2 separate regions of the Homo sapiens genome follow, and region 2 is linked to region 1. The links are contacts of gene promoters, found by promoter capture Hi-C in human tissues and cell types (Jung and others, 2019). All regions are on one chromosome and are shown on one strand. The core of a region is centred on a gene start or on the middle of the fragment in contact, and the rest is flanking DNA. Distances in the headings are between cores, read along the strand shown. Region 1 holds the start of HSPA5 (heat shock protein family A (Hsp70) member 5). Region 2 overlaps SCAI (suppressor of cancer cell invasion).

What was found. Contacts are between HindIII fragments. The study calls those that stand out against the background at their distance.
Region 2: a fragment that was not itself captured here is called in contact with the fragment with the promoter of HSPA5 in region 1 in 1 of the 25 tissues and cell types used here (spleen).

What each region holds. Positions count from the first base shown.
Region 1 is chr9:125,239,045-125,244,365 of GRCh38, forward strand. HSPA5 (heat shock protein family A (Hsp70) member 5) reads right to left here and starts at 2,299. Exons shown (of 8, transcript NM_005347.5): 1 at 1,961-2,299; 2 at 1,632-1,863; 3 at 1,128-1,265; 4 at 377-489; 5 at 1-287. The coding sequence starts at 2,082. It overlaps HSPA5-DT (HSPA5 divergent transcript), which reads left to right and starts at 2,612. Exons shown (of 3, transcript NR_186826.1): 1 at 2,612-3,019. RefSeq lists enhancers at 1,708-1,787, 1,929-2,433, 2,326-2,620, 2,434-2,938, 2,588-2,897. The HindIII fragment of the contact is 17,872 bases long and covers 1-5,321 here.
Region 2 is chr9:125,005,895-125,010,884 of GRCh38, forward strand. The region is part of intron 9 of SCAI (suppressor of cancer cell invasion); the gene reads right to left. Among named protein-coding and RNA genes, the nearest start is that of GOLGA1, 67 kb to the left of the region's middle. The HindIII fragment of the contact is 6,592 bases long and covers 391-4,990 here.

The DNA of each region.
Region 1 (5,321 bases), core at 1,049-3,548:
CCCGTTTGGCCTTTTCTACCTCGCGCCGGAGTTTCTGCACAGCTCTATTGTCTTTCCTGACATCTTTGCCCGTCTTCTTTTTGTACAGTTTGATGAAGTGTTCCATGACACGCTGGTCAAAGTCTTCTCCACCCAGATGAGTATCTCCATTAGTGGCCACAACTTCGAAGACACCATTGTCAATGGTGAGAAGAGACACATCGAAGGTTCCGCCACCCAGGTCAAACACCAGGATGTTCTTCTCCCCCTCCCTCTTATCCAGGCCATAAGCAATAGCAGCTGCCGTACTATTAGATTGAAAAAGGGAAAAGTTTTGTCAGTACTTCACATTTCCACTATTTGGCAAATATGCCGTATCCCTGAATTTCATACTTACGGCTCGTTGATGATCCTCATAACATTTAGGCCAGCAATAGTTCCAGCGTCTTTGGTTGCTTGGCGTTGGGCATCATTAAAATAGGCTGGTACAGTAACAACTGCATGGGTAACCTAAAAGGATAAAAGATAATTAAGTGTATTGTCACATAGTTTAACCCTTATTTAAATTACAGTCTGGCCAGGCGGTGGCTTCTGCCTATAATCCCAGCACTTTGGGAGGCTGAGGCAGGAGGATCACCTGAGGGCAGGATTTCAAGACCAGCCTGGGCAATGTGGAGAAACCCTGTCTCTACTGAAAATTAAAAAAAAAAAAAAAAATTAGCCAGGTGTGGTGGTGTGCCTGTAGTTCCAGTTACTTGGGAGGCTGAGGCAGGAGAGCTGCTTGAACCCGGGAGGCAGAGGTTGCAGTGAGCTGAGATCGTGCCACTGCAGTCCAGCCTGGGCAACAGAGCAAGACTCCATCTCAAAAAAAAAAAATTACAGTCAAACCATCACTTTAGTTTTTAAGCCAACTTATTGATGAATACAACATATAAAATTTTATGTCCCTGGAATTGTAAGCATTAAATAATACATGAAAAGTCTATTTTGTTTGGCTTATAGTAAGGGACTCAATAATTAAACCTGACAAGCATGAATACCATTCTGATTAAAATTTTTGAAACCCTTCACGAAGGCTTCTATACATAACAGCCAACCGAGAATACTAATGATCAAAAAATACTTAACATTGTTCTAGAAATATTTACCTTCTTTCCCAAATAAGCCTCAGCGGTTTCTTTCATTTTAGTGAGAACCATGGCAGAAATTTCTTCAGGAGCAAATGTCTTTGTTTGCCCACCTCCAATATCAACTTGAATGTATGGTTTAGTTTTCTTTTCAACCACCTATTTTAAAGAATTATTGTTTTCAGACACAGATACAATGACATCTCAAAGTTTAAAAGACCCACTACCATCCCCACAATTTGGTTTATTTTGGTCCCTTGGGGCTGCAAATTGACTAGAAATACTTCAGGGAGTATAGGTGTCTTACAAAGTTCAGTTTTAATCGGTCTTTTATTCCTAAACTATCGTAGACAGTACGACAGCAACTGTCTTAAGTTTTGTAACATACTAATAGTATTAAAGTTATTACATACATCATGTCTATAACCTTCAACTGTTGTCTCAACACTTTTCCAGAGACTTATAACTCTAAATACTCCCACCACCCACCCGTTCTCTAACTGGATGAGAAAAACCCGGTCGAACCTTGAACGGCAAGAACTTGATGTCCTGCTGCACAGACGGGTCATTCCACGTGCGGCCGATGAGCCGCTTGGCGTCAAAGACCGTGTTCTCGGGGTTGGAGGTGAGCTGGTTCTTGGCGGCATCGCCAATCAGACGTTCCCCTTCAGGAGTGAAGGCGACATAGGACGGCGTGATGCGGTTGCCCTGATCGTTGGCGATGATCTCCACGCGGCCGTTCTTGAACACGCCGACGCTGGCAGAAAAACCCGACAGAGGGACATCAGCACCGCACTTCTCACGCCAGGCCAGGCGGCCACGCCCCGTCCCCCTGCATCCGCAACCCCACTTACCAGGAGTAGGTGGTCCCCAGGTCGATGCCGACCACCGTGCCCACGTCCTCCTTCTTGTCCTCCTCCTCGGCCCGCGCCGCGCTGAGCAGCAGCAGCATCGCGGCCACCAGGGAGAGCTTCATCTTGCCAGCCAGTTGGGCAGCAGCAGGCAGTCCAGCCACAGGCCGTAGCACAGGAGCACAGCGCAATTTCCGACTTGCAGGCGGCAGGGGCCCGGGGTCACAAGGCGCCACGAACCAGGCGAAGGGCAGGTCTAGAAATACAGGCCGCGGCGCTTCCCTCTCACACTCGCGAAACACCCCAATAGGTCAATCTGTCTGTGCTGTCTTGGCCGGCGTCGACCTCACCGTCGCCTACTCGGCTTATATACCCTCCCCCAGCCCCGTCGTGGAGGCCGCCGATTGGTGAAGGCCCTGCTCGTTGGAGGCCGTTCATTGGCCCAGGCCACCAAGCTGGCCGCCGCCGATTCGAAGCGGCCCCCTCCGCAATAAACGTCACTGCTCCGCCCCCCCCAGCTGATTCATTGGCTGCTATTCGTTTCTAACGTTCACCAATGGTAGATAACATCCGCCCCATCCGCTGGTCCCATTGGTTCAGCAGCTGTCTATCTCTCCTGCGACTTCTGACCCCGAGGCATTTCCGCTGGTAACCGCACAAGTCCCGCCTTCACTCCCGGCCCTAGGGGGTCGGAGTAGGTCCAGCAGGAGTGACCCCCCGGGGCTGTGGGATCTGAAACTTTTTCTTCTCTACTGCTTGTTCTCCCTTCCTCCATCCCTCACCCCGAAGCGGGAAGCAGCTTTCTCTTCCCAGCTTCCATCCAGTCTCTGAGTAGACCAGTCGCAGCTTAGATGCTGGGATCGCCTCAGAACACATTTCTTTGCCCTTCACGGCCACTACCGGTATTGGGGTATGCGAGTCTCAGGGCCGTTCGTTGCTCACAGGTCGAGCTGGTCTGGACTCTGTTCGACCACGAATCATGACTCCTTCCTGCCAGTTATGTCCCCTCCGCACCCTTGCCCAGCCATTTTACCAGGCCTCTCCACATTGCGCTGCCCCACGGTAAGTCGCAGGACAAGCCCGGCCAAAGGAATTGCCTCCAGCTCTGAGTCCCCTCCCTACTGTGGCAACCCACTCCAGTGCCAGCCCTCCCACACTGGATGTCTAATTTTTCTAGCTTGCCACCCTTTACTTTCCCCTCCGCTGCCCATCCTTTCCCTCTGGGGCAAAGGTTATCATTTACGGGGCTTTCTCCATCCTTTATTGTTGATACTTTTCTACCTTCATTCCAGGAAAAGGTCTGATGTACACGCAGACAACACATTTGATAGGCGAAAATCGTCTTGATAATGCCTTATTCTTATATAACATCCTGTTGCAAAAAATAATAGAGACCACTATTTGCTGAAAGCCTACCGTGGATTAAGCATTGTTCAGTGTGCTTTTCATGTGTCATTTAGTCTTGACAGTTCAATACTCGGTAGGCATTTCCCGTTTTCCAGATGAGGACATTGAAACTGAAAAAGATTAAATAACTAAACAAGTCACAGAGCTGGTGAGTGATGGAGTTAGGATTGATAACCAGGTGGAGTTCACTCTATTGCCAATACTTTTTTTTTTTTCAAGACGGAGTATCACTCTGTCACGCCCAGGCTGGAGTTCAGTAGTGCAATCTCAGCTCACTGCAACCTCCGCTTCCGGGGTTCAAGCGATTCTCCTGCCTCAGCCTCCTGAGTAGCTGGGATTACAGGCACGCACCACCATGCCTGGCTAATTTTTTTTTTTTTTTTTTTGTGGAGATGAGGTTTCACCATTTTAGCCAGGCTGGTTTCGAACTCCCAACCTCAAGCGATCTGCCCACCTCGGCCTCCCAAAGTGCTGGGATTACAGGTGTGAGACACTGTGCCTGATCTCTTAACTTTAAAACAAAAAATTCATCTGTGGCCGGGCGTGGTGGCTCACGCCTGTAATCCCAACACTTTGGGAGGCCGAGGTGGGCGGATCACGGGGTCAGGAGATCAAGACCATCCGGGGTAACACGATGAAACCCCATCTCTATAAAAATCCAAAAATTAGCTGGGCGTGGTGGTGCATGCCTGTAGTCCCAGCTACTCGGGAGGCTGAGGCAGGAGAATCGCTTGAACCCGGGAGGTGGAGGTTGCAGTGAGCCGAGATCACGTCACTACACTCCAGCCTGGGCAGCAGAGCTAGACTCCATCTCAAAAAAAAAAAAAAAATTCATTTGTTTGAGGAATGTTTTTGGAGGACCTACTATGGAAAGGGCAAAGCTCTGATATGAAATATTTGAGATTCATGGGTATACTGTGTCCAGATACCACTAAAACATCCTAAACACACTTTATTAAGATGTTGAGCCTGTGACTCAGTACTCAAGAATTTTCTTTTTCCTTAGTGCTTCTCAAAGGTTAGACTGGTGACTCAAGAGTTGACTCTGTTCACTACAGAGGTTGCATCATGCATCTCTTTCAGCAGGGCTTGTAATCCTGCGGCAACATTGACCCTTCTTTGGCTTGCATCAGTCCAGCATTAAGATAGAAATCATCATTTGACCACATTACAGCTTCTTTCATTTCAATCAAATGTTTTTATAGTGCAGTCCATTTCCATTAAAAAAAAAAACTCTCCATTTCAGCCTTATCCTTGATTAACAGAGTAACGTTTTGTAACTCTCCTTTTTGTAAAATTTAGAAAAGCGATACATGGCTAACTTCCAAAGGGAATTGAATATATTGTGGTTTCATCTTTTTAAAACCAGACATTTTACATACATTTTCTAGTATATTCCAAAGCACAGTCACTTACGAATAGGAAAGTACATGGTCAAAACTAGCTTGCTGAACATTAAATGCCAAAAATAATATCCAGGTCAAGTTATCAATACTTAACTGTTAGACACTGTGCTAAAGACGTACGTGCATTATCTCTTTTTATCTTTAAGAAAGCAGTTTTTTGTAATCCCAGTATTTTGGGAGGCCGAGGTGGGCGGATCACGAGGTCAAGAGATCGAGACCATCCCGGCCAACATGGTGCCCAGTCTCTACTAAAAATACAAAAATCAGTTGGGTGTAGTGGCGCGCGCCTATAGTCCCAGCTACTGCTACTCAGAGGATGAGGCAGGAAAATCGCTTGAACCTGGGAGGCGGAGGTTCAGTGAGCTGAGATCGCACCACTGCACTCCAGCCTGGCCACAGAACGAGACTCTGTCTCAAAACAAAAACAAAAACAAAAACAAAAAGAAACAAACAAAAAAGCATTTTTTTCTTACCCCTATTTTAGAGTGAAGGAATCTGAAGCCCCAAGAGGTAAAGAAACTTGCCCAGGAGATTGCACACCTAAGATAATG
Region 2 (4,990 bases), core at 2,437-4,936, 230 kb before region 1:
AGATCAAGAAAAGTCTCCCCCAAGAATTCACGGCCATATGCTGATTCTCATGTGGTTTGAGAATCTGAATTAACATTATTTGCATGGCTGAAAAATCTATAAGGTTTTTCACTTAAAAAGAACAAAAACTGATACTGCCCCCAAGTTTTGAGGGAAAAAGCAATGCAGATCTTCGTTGGAAGAAGGCATCCTCAATTCAGGTCTTACAGAATTCTAGCTGACAGAATTACATCAAAGAAGACTCAGAAACAAAAATCATAAAACGCATGAAGAAAAAAGGCACGCCTGATTCAGCAAACAGAAACAGGATGATACAAACATCATACATAACATGCAAAAGTCTAGGTGTGGCAGCTCACACCTGTAATCCCAGCACTTTGGAGGGCCAAGGTGGGAGGATCATTTGAGGCCAGGAGCTGGAGACCAGCCAAGAGGCGGGGATTAAAGAAGGGGCAACATAGTGAGATGCACACCCCCATCCCCGGTCTCTTAAAAGAAAAAAAGTTAGTTTCATATGCTTAAATAGAAGAAGTAATTAAAATCATGATTAAGCCAATCAAAGGAATATGTAGAAAATAACCTAATACATTCATTCATTCATTCATTCATTCATTTGAGACGGAGTCTCGCTCTGTCACCCAGGCTGGAGTGCAGTGGCGCGATCTCGGCTCACTGCAACCTCTGCCTCCCGGGTTCAAGTGATTCTCCTGCCTCAGCCTCCTGAGTAGCTAGGACTACAGGCGCACGCCACCACGCCCGGCTAATTTTTGTATTTTTAGTAGAGATGGGGTTTCACCATATTGGTCAGGCTGGTATTGAACTCCTGACCTCGTAATCTGCCCGCCTCGGCCTCCCACAGTGTGGGGATTACAGGTGTGAGCCACTGCACCTGACCTATACTTTTAAAAATAAAAAATACAATAAATGAAATGTAAAAACTGAGGCCAGGTGTGCTGGCTCGCACCTGTAATCCCAGCACTTTGGGAGACTGAGGCAGGTGAATCACCTAAGGTCAGGAGTTTGAGACGAGCCTGGCCAACATGGTGAAACCCCATCTCTACTAACAAATACAAAAATTAGCTGGGCGCGTAGGGCGTGCCTGTAGTCCTGGCTACTGGGGAGTTTGTGGTGGGAGAATCAACTGAACCAGGGAGGCAGAAGATGCAGTGAGCCGAGATCATGCCACTGCATGCTAGCCTGGGTGACAGAGCAAGACTGTCTCAAAACAAAAAGAAAAGAAAGAGAATGCTGGGGGATTTGATTATAAATTAATATGCAAGCAAATTATCAGATATATAGTAATTATAAATATTAATATGATAATTTTAAAAGTGAGAAACAAGCAATAGAACAGACCAACACACTTGTAGTTAGCATAACTAGAGAGTATAGTTAGCAGAAAAGGACTTTAAAATAACTACTAAGTGTGATCAACAAAATAGACATGGTAGAACACAAATGAAGAAATAGAGAATTCTGCCAGAGAATTAAAATCTACTAAAAAATAAAAAAGGGCCAGGTGCCGTGGTTCATGCCTATAATCCCAACATTTGGGAGGCTAGGGCAGAAGGACTGCTTGAGGCCAGGAGTTTGAGACCAGCCTTGGCAATACAGCAACACCCCATCTCTATAAAACATAAACATTTTTGGAAGGCTGAGGCAGGAAGATCACTTCAGCCTGGGAGGTCAAGGCTACAGTGAGCCATGACTGTGCCACTGCACTCCCACCTGCATGACAGAGCCAGATACTGTCTCTAAAAAGAAAAAAAAAAAATTTTTTTTAAGACAGGGTCTGCTTCTGTCACCCAGGCTGAAGTGTGTGGCACAATCATGGCTCACTGCAGCCTTGACTTCCCGGGCTCAAGTGATTCTTCCACCCCAGTCTCCCAAGCAGCTGGGACTAGAGGCACATGACCAACATCCAGCTAAGGTTTGTTTTTTAGTTCTTTTTCTTTTTCTTTTTTTTTTTGAGACGGAGTCTCGCTCTGTCGCCCAGGCTGGAGTGCAGTGGTCTGATCTCTGCTCACCGTAAGCTCCACCTCCCGGGTTCACGCCATTCTCCTGCCTCAGCCTCCGGAGTAGCTGGGACTACAGGCGCCCGCCACCATGCCCGGCTAATTTTTTGTATTTTTAGTAGAGACGGGGTTTCACCGTGTTAGCCAGGATGGTCTCGATCTCCCGACCTTGTGATCCGCCCGCCTCGGCCTCCCAAAGTTCAGGGATTACAGGCGTGAGCCACCGTGCCCGGCCCTTTATTTTTTTCTTTTTGAGACAGAGTCTCACTCTGTCACCCAGGCTGGAGTGCAGTGGCACGAATTTGTCTCATTGCAACCTCTGCCTCCAGAGTTCAAGTGATCCTCCTGCCTCAGTCTCCCAAGTAGCTGGGATCAAAAGCATAAGCCACCATGCCTGGCTTATTTTTAGTAGAGACAGGGTTTCACCATGTTGGCCAGGCTGGTCTCGGACTCCTAACCTCAAGTGATCTACCCAGCTAGGCCTCCCAAAGTAATGGGATTACAGGCATGAGCCACTGCCTGGCCTGATATTTGTATTTTTTGTAGAAATGGGGTTTCATCATGCTGCCCAGGCTAGGAAAAAAAAATTTAATCTATAAAACAAGAATCAAATGGAAAAATCCAGAGCTAAGAAAGACAATATGTGAAATATGAAACTTAATAAAAGGTTAAATAGCAGATTAAACACATCAGAAGATATGGTTAGTGAAATGGAAAAGAAGTCAACAGAAAACAGCCTAACTTAAACCTAGAGAGGAAAAAATGATGAAAAATACAGAAAAGAATATAACAGACACACGTGGCACTGTGAACGGGTCTACAAACATGTAACTGAGTCCTAGAAGTGGAGCAGAGAAAGAACAGAAGGGAAACAATACTCAGAGACATAATAACCATATTTCAAAATAGATGAAAGACATAAACCCATAGATTCAAGAAACTCTGTGAACCTCAAGCAGGATAAATAAAGAAAACTGCACCTGAATATAACATAGTAAAACTGCAAAGAATCAAAGAAAGTGAGAAAATCTTAAAAACACACAGAGGAAAGAAACATTTCCTTAAGTGGATATAATATGTGACTAATAAATCTAACAGACAATTTCTCAACAGAAATGAGAGAAGATAATGAAATTAAATCTTCAAAGTGCTGAAAAAAAATTATCAAACTCAAGTTGGAGATGTGCAATATACTGTCAGTAAGAGTTAAAAAAGAAATAAGAAAATACATTCAACTGAAAGAAAATATAAAATATAAAATATTATAGAAGAAGCAGGATTGGAAAAAATACAAAATATCAAAATATGTAGAATAAAATTAAAGTAATGCTTAAAGAGAATTTTACAGCTTTGGATTTTTATTTTATTTATTTATTTAGAGACGGAGTCTTCTTCTGTTGCCCAGGCTGCAGTGCAGCGGTGCAATCTGGGCTCACTGCAGCCTCCACCTCCTGGGTCCAAGCAATTCTCCTGCCTCAGCCTCCCAAGTAGCTGGAATTATAGGCACATGCCATCATGCCTGACTAATTTTTGTATTTTAAGTAGAGATCAGATTTTGCCATGTTGGCCAGGCTGGTCTAGAACTCCTGACCCTCAGGCGATCTGCCCCACTTTGCCTCCCAAAGTGCATGAGCCACCATGCCCAAAGGCATGAGTCACCACGCCCAGCCCAGGGATTTTTATACTAGAAGAGGAAAAAGAGCATAGTGGCTCACACCCGTAATCCCAACACTTTGGGAGGCCAAGCTGGGGGCAGATCACCTGAGGCTAGGAGTTTGAGACCAGCCTGGCCAACATGGCGAAACCCTGTCTCTACTAAAAATACAAAAATTAGCTGGGCCACTGTGATGGCACATGCCTGTAATGCCAGCTACTCAGGAGGCTGAGGCAGGAAAATCACTAGAACCCAGGAGCCAGAGGTGGCAGTGAGTCAAGATCACACCACTGTACTCCAGCCTGAGGGACAGAGTGAGACTCTGTCTCAAAAATAAAAATAAAGTCAGTTGGCCAGGCGAGGAGGCACGCCTGTAATCCCAGCACTTTGGGAGGCCAAGGTGCGCAGATCACGAGGTCAGGAGACCAAGACCATTCTGGTTAACACGGTGAAACCCTGTCTCTACTAAAAATACAAAAAATTGGAGGAGCCAAGATGGCCGAATAGGAACAGCTCCGGCCTACAGCTCCCAGGGTAAGCGACGCAGAAGACGGGTGATTTCTGCATTTCCATCTGAGGTACCGGGTTCATCTCACTAGGGAGCACGCAGTGGGCGCAGGACAGTGGGTGCAGCGCACCGTGCGCGAGCCGAAGCAGGGCAAGGCATTGCCTCACTCGGGAAGCGCAAGGGGTCAGGGAGTTCCCTTTCCTAGTCAAAGAAAGGAGTGACAGATGGCACCTGGAAAATTGGGTCACTTCCACCCCAATACTGCGCTTTTCCGACGGGCTTAAAAAACGGTGCACCAGGAGATTATATCCCGCACATGGCTTGGAGGGTCCTACACCCACGGAGTCTCGCTGATTGCTAGCACAGCAGTCTGAGATCAAACTGCAAGGCAGCAGCGAGGCTGGGGGAGGGGTACCCGCCATTGCCCAGGCTTGCTTAGGTAAACAAAGCAGCCAGAAAGCTCGAACTGGGTCGAGCCTACCACGGCTCAAGGAGACCTGCCTGCCTCTGTAGGCTCCACCTCTGGGGGCAGGGCACAGACAAAGAAAAAGACAGCAGTAACCTCTGCAGACTTAAATGTCCCTGTCTGACAGCTTTGAAGACAGCAGTGGTTCTCCCAGCACGCAGCTTGAGATCTGAGAACGGGCAGACTGCCTCCTCAAGTGGGTCCCTGACCCCGACCCCTGAGCAGCCTAACTGGGAGGCACCCCCCAAGTAGGGGCAGACTGACACCTCACATGGCCAGGTACTCCTCTGAGACAAAACTTCCAGGGGAACATCAGACAGCAGCATTCACGGTTCACGAAAATCCGC